3 separate regions of the Homo sapiens genome follow, and regions 2 and 3 are each linked to region 1. The links are contacts of gene promoters, found by promoter capture Hi-C in blood cells and fetal thymus (Javierre and others, 2016). All regions are on one chromosome and are shown on one strand. The core of a region is centred on a gene start or on the middle of the fragment in contact, and the rest is flanking DNA. Distances in the headings are between cores, read along the strand shown.

Region 1 (4,170 bases), core at 1,671-4,170:
GGTCACTTCCCAATGTGCTCCTCACTCAACTAATAGCTTTTCCTCATTCTCCTAATGTTTACCCATTTTTAGGATGCCAACTTAAACTTGATGTGGTTAAATCCAAAATTCAGATGCCTAATCTCCATTTCACACAGCTATGCGAATTGTGAGGCCAACCATACGACCACAATTAAAGTTTAATTTACATAAATAGCTAGGCGAGGTGGCTCAAGCCTGTAATCCCAGCACTTTGGGAGGCCAAGGCTGGTGGATTAACTGAGGTCAGAAGTTCAAGACCAGCCTGGACAACATAGTGAAACCCCATCTCTACCAAAAATACAAAAATTAACCAGGCATGGTGGCAGACACCTGTAATCCCAGCTACTCAAGAAGCTGAGGCAGGAGAATCACTTGAACCCGGGAGACGGAGGTTGCAGTGAGCTGAGATCACGCCACTGCAATTCAGCTTGGGCGACAAAGACTCCGTCTCAAAAAAAAAAAAAAAAAAAAGAAAAAAATTAAATTACATGAATAAGCTTTCTTCCCCATGAAAATAATGTGTGTCACTTCACACTTGGTCTAACACACAAAATCCCCACCTTATCTGGCACAGATACACTTAACATGCAATATTAAGTACAATTTCCATTTTATTTTTCTCCAGAGAATAGCCTGTCTTCAGTCTTTAAGAACTCAGCTCCTTACATGGGCTTTGGTGGGGGACGTGGGGCAGCACCCTGAAAGACAAAGAAACAAAAGAGTAAATTAAAACCCATGGATCCAAGACTCCCTTCCCCCAAAGAACTTGACCACCATCCTCTCACAAACTGATGTATTCAGGCTACAAATGCATGGGAAGCTGATAGAGGTGGAGGGAGAACACTACTCTGCATCCTAAAAACCAATTCTGATTCTAACACTGCTTTGCAGTGTCTCTAAGCATGTTCAGGTGTGGGTCTCACCTGCCTTACAGCTTAACCTGAGGCACAGACCTTAATTTGATACCCCCTGCACCACAGGAGGAAGCAACTTTTTTTTTTTTTTAAGAGACAAGGTCTCACTTTTGCCCTGGCTGGAGCGCAAGTGGTATAATCATAGCTCACTGCAACCTCAAACTCCTGGGCTCAAGTGATCCTCCTGCCTCAGCCTCTCGAGCAGCCAGACTATAGGTTCACACTATCATGCTTGGCTTCCTTCTCAATATTTTTTGAAGAGATGGGGTCTTGAACTGCTGGTTTCTAGCAATCTTCTTGTCCCAGCCTCCCAAAGTGTTGAGGTTACAGGTATAGGACACCCTGACCCTCCAGGATGAAATTTTAACCATCACTCCCCTGGCTTCCATTCTCCTTTTAAAATACTCACCGCAGGTCTAAATCGGGGTGGGGGTGTTCGGTCCTTGCGGGCTTCACGAGATCGATTCCTGACTACTTTGCTGTGAATTGCACAACTCACACAGTAATGTAGCTTCACATACAGCTTGGGAAGCACATAGGCTAAGGAATAGAAAATAGAGTTATACTGGTATTATATACCTACCTTGCTTTTTTGTTACATGAATGAAGAGCACCTTACATGTTTACGTCAATTAAAACTAAACCTATTTAAATGCCTGTCGGGCACATAAAAGCACCCCCAAAGCACCTGTTCAGCCCAATACCTGAGCACATATGTATAACCCTCAGTTTTACAAGTGAATTAACATCCCACGTGAGTTCATCTTGACACCGCAAGGACCAGACTGACATTCTAAATGCAATAAACCAATAATCCAGTTCCTTCTACACCTACACCCGCCCTAATGCCTACCCTGAACCTTGCTCTTTCTATAAAAGGAAAAAAACAAAGCGACGTTCTTATTGCTCCAAACATCATCCTTGCACACCAAACTAGACGGCCTCCATTCTCGAAACGTTGAAGACATTCTTCCTCACCTGTATATTTTCACAAATATTCAAATAATCAATAGCACAAGAATTGTCAAATTTACCAAGTTTCTAGTTTTTGCAATCTCATAACCGAAACAGGCAAACCTTTACCTCAGAGTAAAGGCTGTGCACTCTATCACAAAGTCACCCTCTGCCCAGAAAAGAATCAAAACGGCAAACAAGAGAATTCTCTTCTACCAGTAACAACCTTAAATACGTGGAAATTGCCTGAGAGGCTCCAAAGAACAGAGCCTCCAAAAGGGCGAAGTTGGGCGAAGGCTTTAAGATACTGGGATCCTCACACAGTTCGCGCCGGTGACCCACTTACCATCGAAGACGCTCGCTTCAGAAATGTCCCTGACTGCTGCGGCCTCCACTATGTTTCGAATGACGAATTTCTTAATGGCCTTGTCCTTGGGCACGCATCGGGCACAGTTAGTGCAGCGAATAGGCTGCACGTGGCCGCGGCCCTTTTTGGCACGACCATTGTTCCTTCTTTTCTTTGTCTGCGACAGGATGGGAAAACTGTTAGGAAAACGGCGCAACTCACCCAGCCTCAGTCCCTTTCCGGCCACAAGCCGCACCGGCAGCCTCCAGGAAGGCGCCGCTCGGATCTCCTGTTTCTCCGCAAATCCCGCCGACCCCCAGAGCAAATGAAATGTACACTCGGTCCACCCCTCAGCCGTGCTCCAGGCTCTCACTTCCCCACAATCCCAGAGTCTGCACCCGAACCCCCACCCTCACCACGCAAGAAGACTCACCATCTTGGAGGCACGGACCGGAGAGAGGAGACGGTGCCTGGCAGGGCCCTCCTATATAGCATGAGATCCCTACGCGGACACCGGGAGAATCCTTAGGAGACGGGCTTCAAGAACGGCAACTCACTTTACTCAAATATTCCTTTACATTCAGCATTTCTGCTGAAATCTAGGGTGGAAATGCGTTCCTAGTGTTTATTTATCCATGGAACAAAGTGCACATGGGACTATTTAGCCGGATGGCGGAAGAAAATCGAGGTTATGTGTCTCCCAGCAAGCCTTGCGCCGCGCCGACTCGGAAGCAATTCTGGACGATGCAGTTTTCCGGTATACGCGACGCTAGGCGTGAAAGTTGCCAGACGCTGGACCACAAGGCGCACTCGTTATTAGAGGCCAGAGAGGGACAGATGCTTGGTGGGAATTGTAGTGCGAAGCCAAGAGGCTCCCCCCTCCCCCCCTTCCCCCCTGCCCCAAGTGCTTAGACCGAAGGCGGCGCTGCGCCACCGGGGGACGCCCTGGGCTCATTTCTCTGACAGTCCTTCTACTAGGTAGGTGTAGGATTACGAAGAGGAAGGCCTGAGAGGAAACAAGCATTTTGTGAATCCCTCCTTCCAATATGGAGAAAATCCCACAATGAAGTGCATTGAGGCTGGGGCTATTTCTCATTCATCTTTTTATCTCTGGCACAGTGCCTGGCCCTGTGGTAAGCGTCTTTATAAATATTAACTCATTTAACTTTGAGCAAGCCTATAGGTAGCTACTATTATTATCCTCACTTTAAAGATTGAAGAATTTAGCCCGGCCTGGTGGTGGGCGCCTGTAATCCCAGGTACTCAGGAGGCTAAGACAGGAGAATCTTGAACCTGGGAGGCGGAGTTTCCAGTGAGCCGAGATCGCGCCACTGCACTCTAGCCTGGGTAAAAAGATCGAAACTCTGTCTCAAAAATAAATAAATCAATTAAAAAAAAAGATTGAAGAACTGACGTGCAGTAGGTATTCTGGCTCCGCTGTACTATGCTGTATGTCACCTAACAAATGGATGGAGGAATAGCCTGGACTAATGACTTAAACGTTTTTCACCCAGATTCATAGCACGAATACATTTTACATTGGTACCCAGTACACACACAAACACGATTACATGCACATGCAAAACTGAAACACAAGCTTTATGAAACGATACTTACCCTTGTCATAGGTGTGCTGGTATGTTCTATTCTTTATTTTTACTTAATCTTTCTGTTCTCTATTTTAATAAATGCTGATCAAAAACCACGAAAATTATTTCACCACTCATTAGTGAATCTGACCCCTAATTGAAAGATTATGTGTAAGCTCCATTTACCTCTGAAGAGCCATCGGAAAGACTTAAGCCTTAGGCTGGGTGCAGTGGCTCACGCCTGTAATCCCAACACTTTGGGAGGCCAAGGCAGGCGGATCACCTGAGGTCAGGAGTTCAAGACCAGCCTAGTCAACATAGTGACACCCCACCTCTACTAAAAATA
Region 2 (4,170 bases), core at 614-3,113, 250 kb after region 1:
TAGAGCTACATTCCCCATGGGAGAAATAAGGGATTTTTAAAAGAAGGAAACCAGACCTTGTAGAGTACTTATTAATTGTTGTGATGAACATTGGGAGGTGGTACTTAAAGGAGGATTGGAGGGTTACTCATTAGTTCAAAAGTAAATTAAAGGCTGGGCTCGGTGGCTGATGCCTGTAATCCCAGTACTTTGGGAGGCCGAGGTGGGTGGATCACTTGAGGCCAGGAGTTCGTGACTAGCCTGGCCAACATGGTGAAACCCTATCTCTACTAAAAATACAAAAATTAGCTCGGCGTGGTGGCAGGTGCCTGTAATTCCAGCTACTCAGGAGGTTGAGGCAGGAGAATCTCTTGAACCCAGGAGGTGGAGGTTGCAGTGAGCTGAGATCGTGCCATTGCACTCCAGCCTGGGCGACAAGAGCAAAACTCCGTCTCAGAAAAATAAAAGTAAATTGAAAAGTTCCTAAAAGCAAATGAGATGGTTTCTGGTGTCCTTTGAGTGTTTCCCTTCAGCCCAGTATATTTAACCAGACTTCTTTCCTTATTTCTTTATTATACTTTAGCTAAAGAAGCTTAGTTTGTTATTTGAACTCTTTCCTCTCAATAGATGACAGTTAAAGGAACCAAAGCTCTAGTGGACTTCATGTTTCTTTGGCTTAGGGGGTGGCAGAGAGATAATAGGGCAGAGAATGGTGACTCAGGTGAATTCTTACACATTTCTGAGGTTGTGGTTTAGAATATCAGTTTTCTCATTTTAAAAAATCTCTTTCTTTTCTAGGGCAGCAGAGAAGAAAGTGGTGAAAATTACATCTGAAATACCACAGACTGAGGTAGGTATTCTGCTCCCTAGTAGAACAGTCTCTACATTTCTCTCTCCCTCTTACCCTTTATTATATCTGCATCATCCTCTAAAATTTATTCACAGGCAGAAAATCAGTATTGGCAGATTTTGGTGTTGATACGTTTCACTGCCAGCTACTCTTTGGAAAATATTTGGCTGGCGTAGGGGTAGTCATTCTTGAAGTTGTAGTCTTTTTATATGTAATATTATGGTCTTAACAGTGACTCTCTTTGAGATGTTTTCAAACCTAGGATTAGATTTAGGAGGATTGTACCTTGAAAATGTATTGGTAGATGTGACTCTTATGTTGCTACTGGCCAGTAGCTGAGATTGAAATTTCTCTGGTTTCTGTGGTGCAGGACTGTGAAACCAGGTTCCATTTGAGATCTTGTGTTCAGTATCATACTTGCAAAGTAGAGAATTATTAAACTCTTTTAGAATGGCATAAAACAATGCTGCCTCATTTCTAACTGAAAGAATACCATTGGTGTTGGAACCAAGCTATTCCTTTGATCACTTTTCAAAGGTCAGCCAAACATAGCTTTTGACTTCTTGGCTTCATGCATAATGTAGGTTTTACTTTATTTCTCCCTTTTGTTTTTGAGGGCATCTAGTAATAGTCTTTTTTTGTTTGCTTTGTGGGAAGGGCCGTTAAGTCCTAGCATGGACACAACCTGATATCTTCTAGGATTGTCAGTATTTTCAGTTTAGACCCTAAGAAATTACTTCTGATGTTTTTAAGATACCTACCTTTGGCTGGGCCAGGTGGCTCACGCTTGTAATCCCAGCAGTTTAGGAGGCTGAGGTGGGCAGTTCACTTGAGGCCAGGAGTTCAATATCAGCCTGGCCATCATGGTGAAATCTCATTTCTACTAAAAGCACAAAAATTAGCTGGGCACAGTGGCACAGTCCTGTAATCCCAGCTACTCAGGAGGCTGAGCCACGAGAATCGCTCGAACCCAGGAGGCTGAGGTTGCAGTGAGCCGAGATCATGCCACTGCACTCCAGGCTGGGGGACAGAGTGAGACTCTTTTTTTTTTTTTTTTTTTTTTTTTTAAAGATACCTACCTCTGACTGACTTTCTTAAACCATAAATTGACTTTTTTTTCTCCCTTTTGTCTATTTTTACTTAGAGAATGCAGAAGAGGGCTGAACGATTCAATGTACCTGTGAGCTTGGAGAGTAAGAAAGCTGCTCGGGCAGCTAGGTGAGTGTCCCCAGCCTTTTGGGCCTCTGATAGGGGTGTTGTAAAGATGAAGATGTGTGATCCTAGCTTTTAGGTATAATTGTTGATTTTAAGTAGAATAGAGGCTTGCTGAAGGATATGAACACTTTTTTGACCCTATTCAGAACATGTCTACTGATTTGGTTATAGTAGCTATAAATTGAGCTTTATTGAGAAGGGTTTTTGTAACAGTTAAAGCCAGGAACTGACTACTACTAATTCTGATAAGGCTTCCTTTTAGCTTAATTTCTGAACCTCTTTCATGGGGTTGTTAGAATTAGCTAATGATTGCAAGGCTTGAGATCACAAGCAAGAAGTGTCATATGTATACTTGACACGGAGACAGACAAACCAGGAGTGTGAACAGCTTCCTAAAATTTAGTTTGTTTTTCCTTCTTCAGGTTTGGGATTTCTTCAGTTCCAACAAAAGGTAAGAGTACAGAGATACTTCTGAGAAAGTTACCTTTTTATTCTTTCTTTTCTGGTATAACAGGTTTTATTTCTCCAAAATAAGGTAAATTTGCTAGCTGTAGAAACTCTTTAAGAGATTGTAACATTCATCTCCTGCTTTAGGTAAAATTATACTTAGGCCTTCCTGGGCAATTAAGAGAGATACTGAATGTTATGAGAGGATAGGAAGTGCCAACATTTGTCTGTCTTTTCTTGAACATCTTCAAAGAAGTTTCTCTAGTACTTTGCTTACTTATTCTGGGGTCTCAACTGCATAAAATTATTGCATACTATCTAGTGTTATACTGGCTATTATAAGTGATAAAAGGGAAAAGAATATCTTCTACCTTAACAGTTTTACTTCTAGGAACGTATAAGGAAATAGTCTTGAATGTGCATAAAGACTTAGCCTCAGGGATTATCACAGCATTATTTATAGTGATCAATAACTGGAAACAACCAACTGTACAACAGAGAATTAGTTATTAAATGTGTGCCATGGTATAGCAGACTACTGTGCTGAAATAATATTGAAAGATATTTATCAGAGATATTAATGAAAAAAGTTACAAAATTATATTAACAGTACGTTCCCATTTTAGTCATGTAAGAGTGCATGTATAGATAGGAAAAAAGCTTGGAAGGATACATAGTAGACACTTCAGCAAGGTTTGAACTGCACAGGTCCACTTATACTTGGATTTTTTTTTTTTTCAATAAATACAGTTTGCTGTCTGTATCTGAGGGTTCACCATAACCAAATGCGGTTCAGAAATACAGTATTCTTGGGATGTGAAACCTGCAGATATGGAGGAGCAGCTTATATCTGCTGCAGGACTTGAGTGTGGTGGATTTTGGTATCAGCTGGAGGGGTGGGTTTGGATCCAATCCCCTGAGGAAATGGAGGGACGACTGTATTCTAAATTGTTAATACTCTTATCTCTGGTTGGTGGAATTTTGAATGATTTATTTCTTTTTGCTTGTCTGTGTTATTAAAATCCATACAATGAATATGTATCACTTTTGTAATGAATTAGAGGAAATTATTACTATTTTTTGAGACACAGTCTTGCTCTGTCACCCATGCTGGAGTGCAGGGACGTGATCTGGTTCACTGCAACCTCTGCCTCCCAGGTTCAAGCTATTTTCCTGCCTCAGCCTCCTGAGTAGCTGGGACCACAGGTGCGTGACACCATACCCAGCTAATTTTTGTATTATTAGTAGAGACAGGTTTCACTGTGTTGGCCAGGCTGGTCTTGAACTCCTAACCTCAAGTGATCCACTCACCTCTGCCTCCCAAAATGGTGGGATTACAGGTGTGCCGAGCCTGAAACAGTTATTATTTTTAAGAAACGGCTGGGTATGGTGGCTCATGCCTGTAATCCCAGCACTTTGGGATGCCAAGCCGGGAGGATCAGTTGAACCCAGGAGTTGGAAACTAGCTTGGGAAACAAAGTGACACCTTGTTTCTACAAAAAATTAAAAAATTAACTAGACATGGTGGCAGGTGTTTGTAGTCCCAGCTACTTGGGGCGCTGGGGTGGGAGTATCTCTTAAGCCTGGGAGGTCAAGGCTGGCAGTGAGTGTGATCTTGCCATGACACTCTAGCCTGGGTGACAGAGCAAGATCCTGTCTCAGAATTTAAAAAAAGGACA
Region 3 (4,170 bases), core at 1,035-3,534, 160 kb after region 1:
ACACCTGTAATCCCAGCTTCTCGGGAGGCTGAGGCAGGAGGATCACTTGAGCCCAGGGGACAGAGGTTGCAGTGAGCCGAGGTCACGCCACTGCACTCCAGCTTGTGTGATAGAATGAGACTCTGTCTCAAAAATAAATAAATAAAATAAATAAATAAAGAGTCCACTGTCGGTAAGACTCAGGGAAATGGGTACATTCACATATTTCTGGTGGTGCAAATTTCTTGTATGGACAGTTTGTTAAAAGTATTAGAGGCCGATAGCCAAAAAGCACAAACAACCCAAGTTGGTTAACCCATCTGTTAATTATCCATCAACAGATGAATAGTTAAACAAAATGTGGTATATACATAGGATGGAATACTGTTCAGCCACGAAAAGGAATACAATTATGAAACTTGCTTCAATGTGGATGAACTTTAAAAATATTATGCTAAGTGAAATAAACCAGACAGAAAAGGAAAAATATTGTATGATTCTACTTATAAGAGGTACTTAGAATAGATGTATTCATAGATATAAGTAGAATAGCGGTTGCCAAGGACTAGGAGGGAGAATTGAGAGTTATTGCTTTATGGATATAGAGTTTTTGTTTGGGATAATTGAAGAGTTCTAGAAATCGTGTGATGGTTACAACACATTGTGAATGTACTTAATGCCACTGCATTATACACTTAAATACAGTTAAAATGGCCAAGTGTGGTGGCTCATGCCTGTTTTCCCAGCACTTTGGGAGGCTGAGGCAGGAGGATTGCTTGAGGTCAGGAGTTTGAGACCAGCCTGGGTAATATAGCAAGAACCCATTTCTATAAAAACATTAAAAAATTAGCTAGGCATGGTGGTGCATGCCTGTAGTCCTAGCTACTCAGGAGGCTGGGGTGAGAGGAATGCTTGACCCCAGAAGATCAAGACTGCAGTGAGCTACAAGTATGTCACTATACCCAGCCTGGGTGACAGAGTGAGACTCAGTCTCACACACAGACAAAAAGATGGTTAAAATGGTACATTTTATGTTATGTATATTTTATCACAATTAAAAAATAAGGAAAAAATTAAAAACGAGAGAGCTAAGATGGTACATTTTCTTTGACACAGTAATTATACTAAGAATTTTTCCTAAGGAAAAAATGAGATGTGTAAAGATTTAGTCATATGGATTTTTAAAGAGTAGTTTTACAAAACAAAATGGAACAAAACAAAACAAAAACAAAGAATTCAATTTTAATGTCCCCAAACAGACCACTGGTGAAATATAATATGATATACAATAAAATGCCATATAGCCACCAAAAAAAACCCCAAAACCCACTATTCTATCTGAAGATAGATTAGAAAAAAAAATAAAGAACTATGTTGTAAAAGGATAATTTTTTTTTTGAGATGGATCTTGCTCTTGTCGCCTAGGGTAGAGCGCAGTGGCGTGATCTCAGCTCACTGCAACCTCCTCCTCCTCCTGCCTCAGCCTCCCAAGTAGCTGGGATTACAGGCACGCACCACCAGGCCTGATTAATTTTGTTGTTGTTGTCGTTGTTGTTTTGAGATGGAGTTTCGCTCTTGTTGCCCAAACTGGAATGCAATGGCGTGAACTTAGCTCACTGCAACCTCTGCCTCCTGGGTTCAAGAGATTCTCCTGCCTCAGCCTCCCGAGTAGCTGGGATTACAGGCAGGCGCCACCATGCCCGGATAATTTTTTGCATTTTTAGTAGAAATGGGGTTTCACCATGTTAGCCAGGCTGGTTTTGAACTCCTTACCTCAGGCGATCCACCTGCCTTGGCCTCCCAAAGTGCTGGGATTACAGGTGTGAGCCACAGTGCCCAACCTGATATGAATTCCTTCTGCCTGGAGTTCCTCTCCTTGAGTGACAAGCTTGTTTTAAATGGGTTGTAAAAACAATGCCTTATCTAACAATAGTGTTTCAGATAATAAAGTGCAGGCTGTAACAATCCTCAAACACTAAAATACAAAGGCAAATTCAGCGAATTATTTCTATTTATTCCTACTAGGTTAGGAGCTCCTCATGGCTGTAGAAATGACTAGTCTTATCCATTTCTAAATCCATGATTCTTGGTACCTAGTGTATAATGAAACATAATATAGCTGTTTGTTTTTTGAACAAATCTAGTTCCCAGGGTTTGCTCTCAGAATACCGGGTTCAAATCTCAGTTCTTTTTTTTTTTTCTTTTTGAGACAGAGTCTCCCTCTGTCTCCTGGGCTGGAGTGCCGTGGCGTGATCTCAGCTCACTGCAACTTCCACCTACTGTGCTCAAGCAATCCTCTCACCTCAGCCACCCAAGTAGCTAGGACTACAGGCATGCACCACAATGCCTGGGCTGATTTTTAAATTTTATTTGTAGAGACAGGGTCTTGCTATATTGCCCAGGCTGGTTGTGAACTTCTGGCTTCAGGTGGTCCTCCTGCCTGGGCTTCCCAAAGTGTTGGAGTTACAGGCATGAGCCATCATGCCCAGCCTAAAGTTAGTTATTATTGATGAAGTTTTGAAATAGAGAACTGATGGTAAGATCATGGAAAATGAGGAGAAACCAGGTATGTACTTCTCAAGATACCTCAACAAAATAGTATTTCTTTTCCTGATGTGTTGACCATGGTCTGGATCTTGCCAATATCCCTACAGACATCTGGTTTTGTCAGCACAGACAGTAGATCCAATTCTTGAGGATAGACCCATATTAGTCAAGCTTACAAGGCTGATTTATAAACTAGAACATATAAATTAGAATGTCAGTTTATCATTTTATACAAACCAAACCTACCATGAGGAATAGAACACTTGAGTCAGCACAACCAGCACTCTCACTGCCCACAAACATTGCTCCTTGGTTCACCAAATTATATTCAGAAGGTTACTTGGTGAGTATGCATATTAGTTTCCTGTGACTGCTATAACAAATTACCACAACTTGGTGGCTTAAAATAGCAGAAATGTATTCTCTCAAAGTACTAGAGGCTAGAAGTCCAAAGTCAGTATCACTGGATCAAAGCAAAGGTGTCGGCCAGGCATGGTGGTGCATGCCTGTAGTCCCAGCAACTAGGGAGCTACTAGTACTAGGGAGGGTGAGTTAGGAGGATCGATTGAGCCCAGGGGGTGGAGGCTGCAGTGAGCTATGACTGTGCCACAGCACTCCAGCCTGGGTGGCAGAGCGAGACCCTGTCTCAGAAAAAGAAAAAAAAGCCAGGTGCGGTGGCTCACACCTGTAATCCCAGCACTTTGGGAGGCCGGTGGATCACCTGAGGTCAGGAGTTCGAGACCAGCCTGACCAACGTGGTGAAATCCCATCTCTACTAAAAATACAAAATTAGCTGGGTGTGTGGTGCATGCCTGTAATCCCAGTTACTTGGGAGGCTGAGGCAGGAGAATCATTTGAATCCAGGAGGTACAGGTTGCAGTGAGCCAAGTTTGCACCATTGCACTCCAGCCTGGGCAACAAGAGTGAAACTCTATCTCAGAAAAAAAAAAAAGGAAAGAAAAATCAAGGTGTTGACAAGGCTGCACTCTCCCTCCCCAGGGGCTATAGGGGAGAATCTAATCCTTGCCTTTTCCAGCTTCTGGTAGTTGCCAGCATTTCTTGGTTTGTGACAGCATCACTCCAATCCCTGCCTTTATCTTCCTTCACATTGTCTTCTCTCTTTGTGTGTGAAATCTCTCTCTCTCTCATGAGGATACAGGTGATTGTATTTGGGGCCCAGCCACATAATCTAGAGTAATATAATCTCAAGATCCTGAACTTAATCACATCTGCAAAGACACCCCCCGCCCCCCAACCTTTTTTTTTTTTTTTTTTTTTGCCATATAAGGCATTGTTTACAGGTTGTAGGGATTAGGAAGTTAAGATCTTTTTTCAGGGAACATTTTTCAACTTATCACAGCATGGAAATTGGGACTAGGGGAGTGACCTGGTTTAGATGTGTGTCCCCTCCAAATCTCATGTTGAAATGTGACCTTCAATGTTGGAGGCTGGAGGTGGGTGTTTGGGTCATGCGGGCAGATCCCTCATGAATGGCTTGGTGCCCTCCCCATGGTAATGAATGAGTTCTCACTCTATTAGCTCACACAAAAGCCGGTTATTTAAAAGAGCCTGGAATCTCTCTTGCTTCCTCTCTCGCCATGTGACACGACTGCTCCCGTCACCTTCTGCCATGAGTAAAAGCTT

The links. Contacts are between HindIII fragments. The CHiCAGO score rates a contact against its expected background, and 5 or more counts as called.
Region 2: a fragment that was not itself captured here is called in contact with the fragment with the promoter of RPS26 in region 1 in 13 of 17 cell types (endothelial precursors, M2 macrophages, megakaryocytes and 10 more); the score reaches 12.0 in endothelial precursors.
Region 3: a fragment that was not itself captured here is called in contact with the fragment with the promoter of RPS26 in region 1 in 1 of 17 cell types (megakaryocytes); the score reaches 5.2 in megakaryocytes.

What each region holds. Positions count from the first base shown.
Region 1 is chr12:56,040,668-56,044,837 of GRCh38, reverse strand. It overlaps RPS26 (ribosomal protein S26), which reads right to left and starts at 2,920. Exons shown (of 4, transcript NM_001029.5): 1 at 2,669-2,920; 2 at 2,236-2,413; 3 at 1,345-1,475; 4 at 141-719. The coding sequence starts at 2,671. The coding sequence ends at 684. RefSeq lists enhancers at 2,232-2,491, 2,632-2,961, 2,410-3,199 and a silencer at 3,112-3,171. The HindIII fragment of the contact is 3,314 bases long and covers 521-3,834 here.
Region 2 is chr12:55,792,684-55,796,853 of GRCh38, reverse strand. SARNP (SAP domain containing ribonucleoprotein) reads left to right here. Exons shown (of 11, transcript NM_033082.4): 5 at 778-829; 6 at 1,974-2,047; 7 at 2,467-2,495. Among named protein-coding and RNA genes, the nearest start is that of SARNP, 23 kb to the left of the region's middle. The HindIII fragment of the contact is 2,580 bases long and covers 574-3,153 here.
Region 3 is chr12:55,883,999-55,888,168 of GRCh38, reverse strand. No RefSeq gene overlaps it. Among named protein-coding and RNA genes, the nearest start is that of PYM1, 42 kb to the left of the region's middle. The HindIII fragment of the contact is 830 bases long and covers 1,870-2,699 here.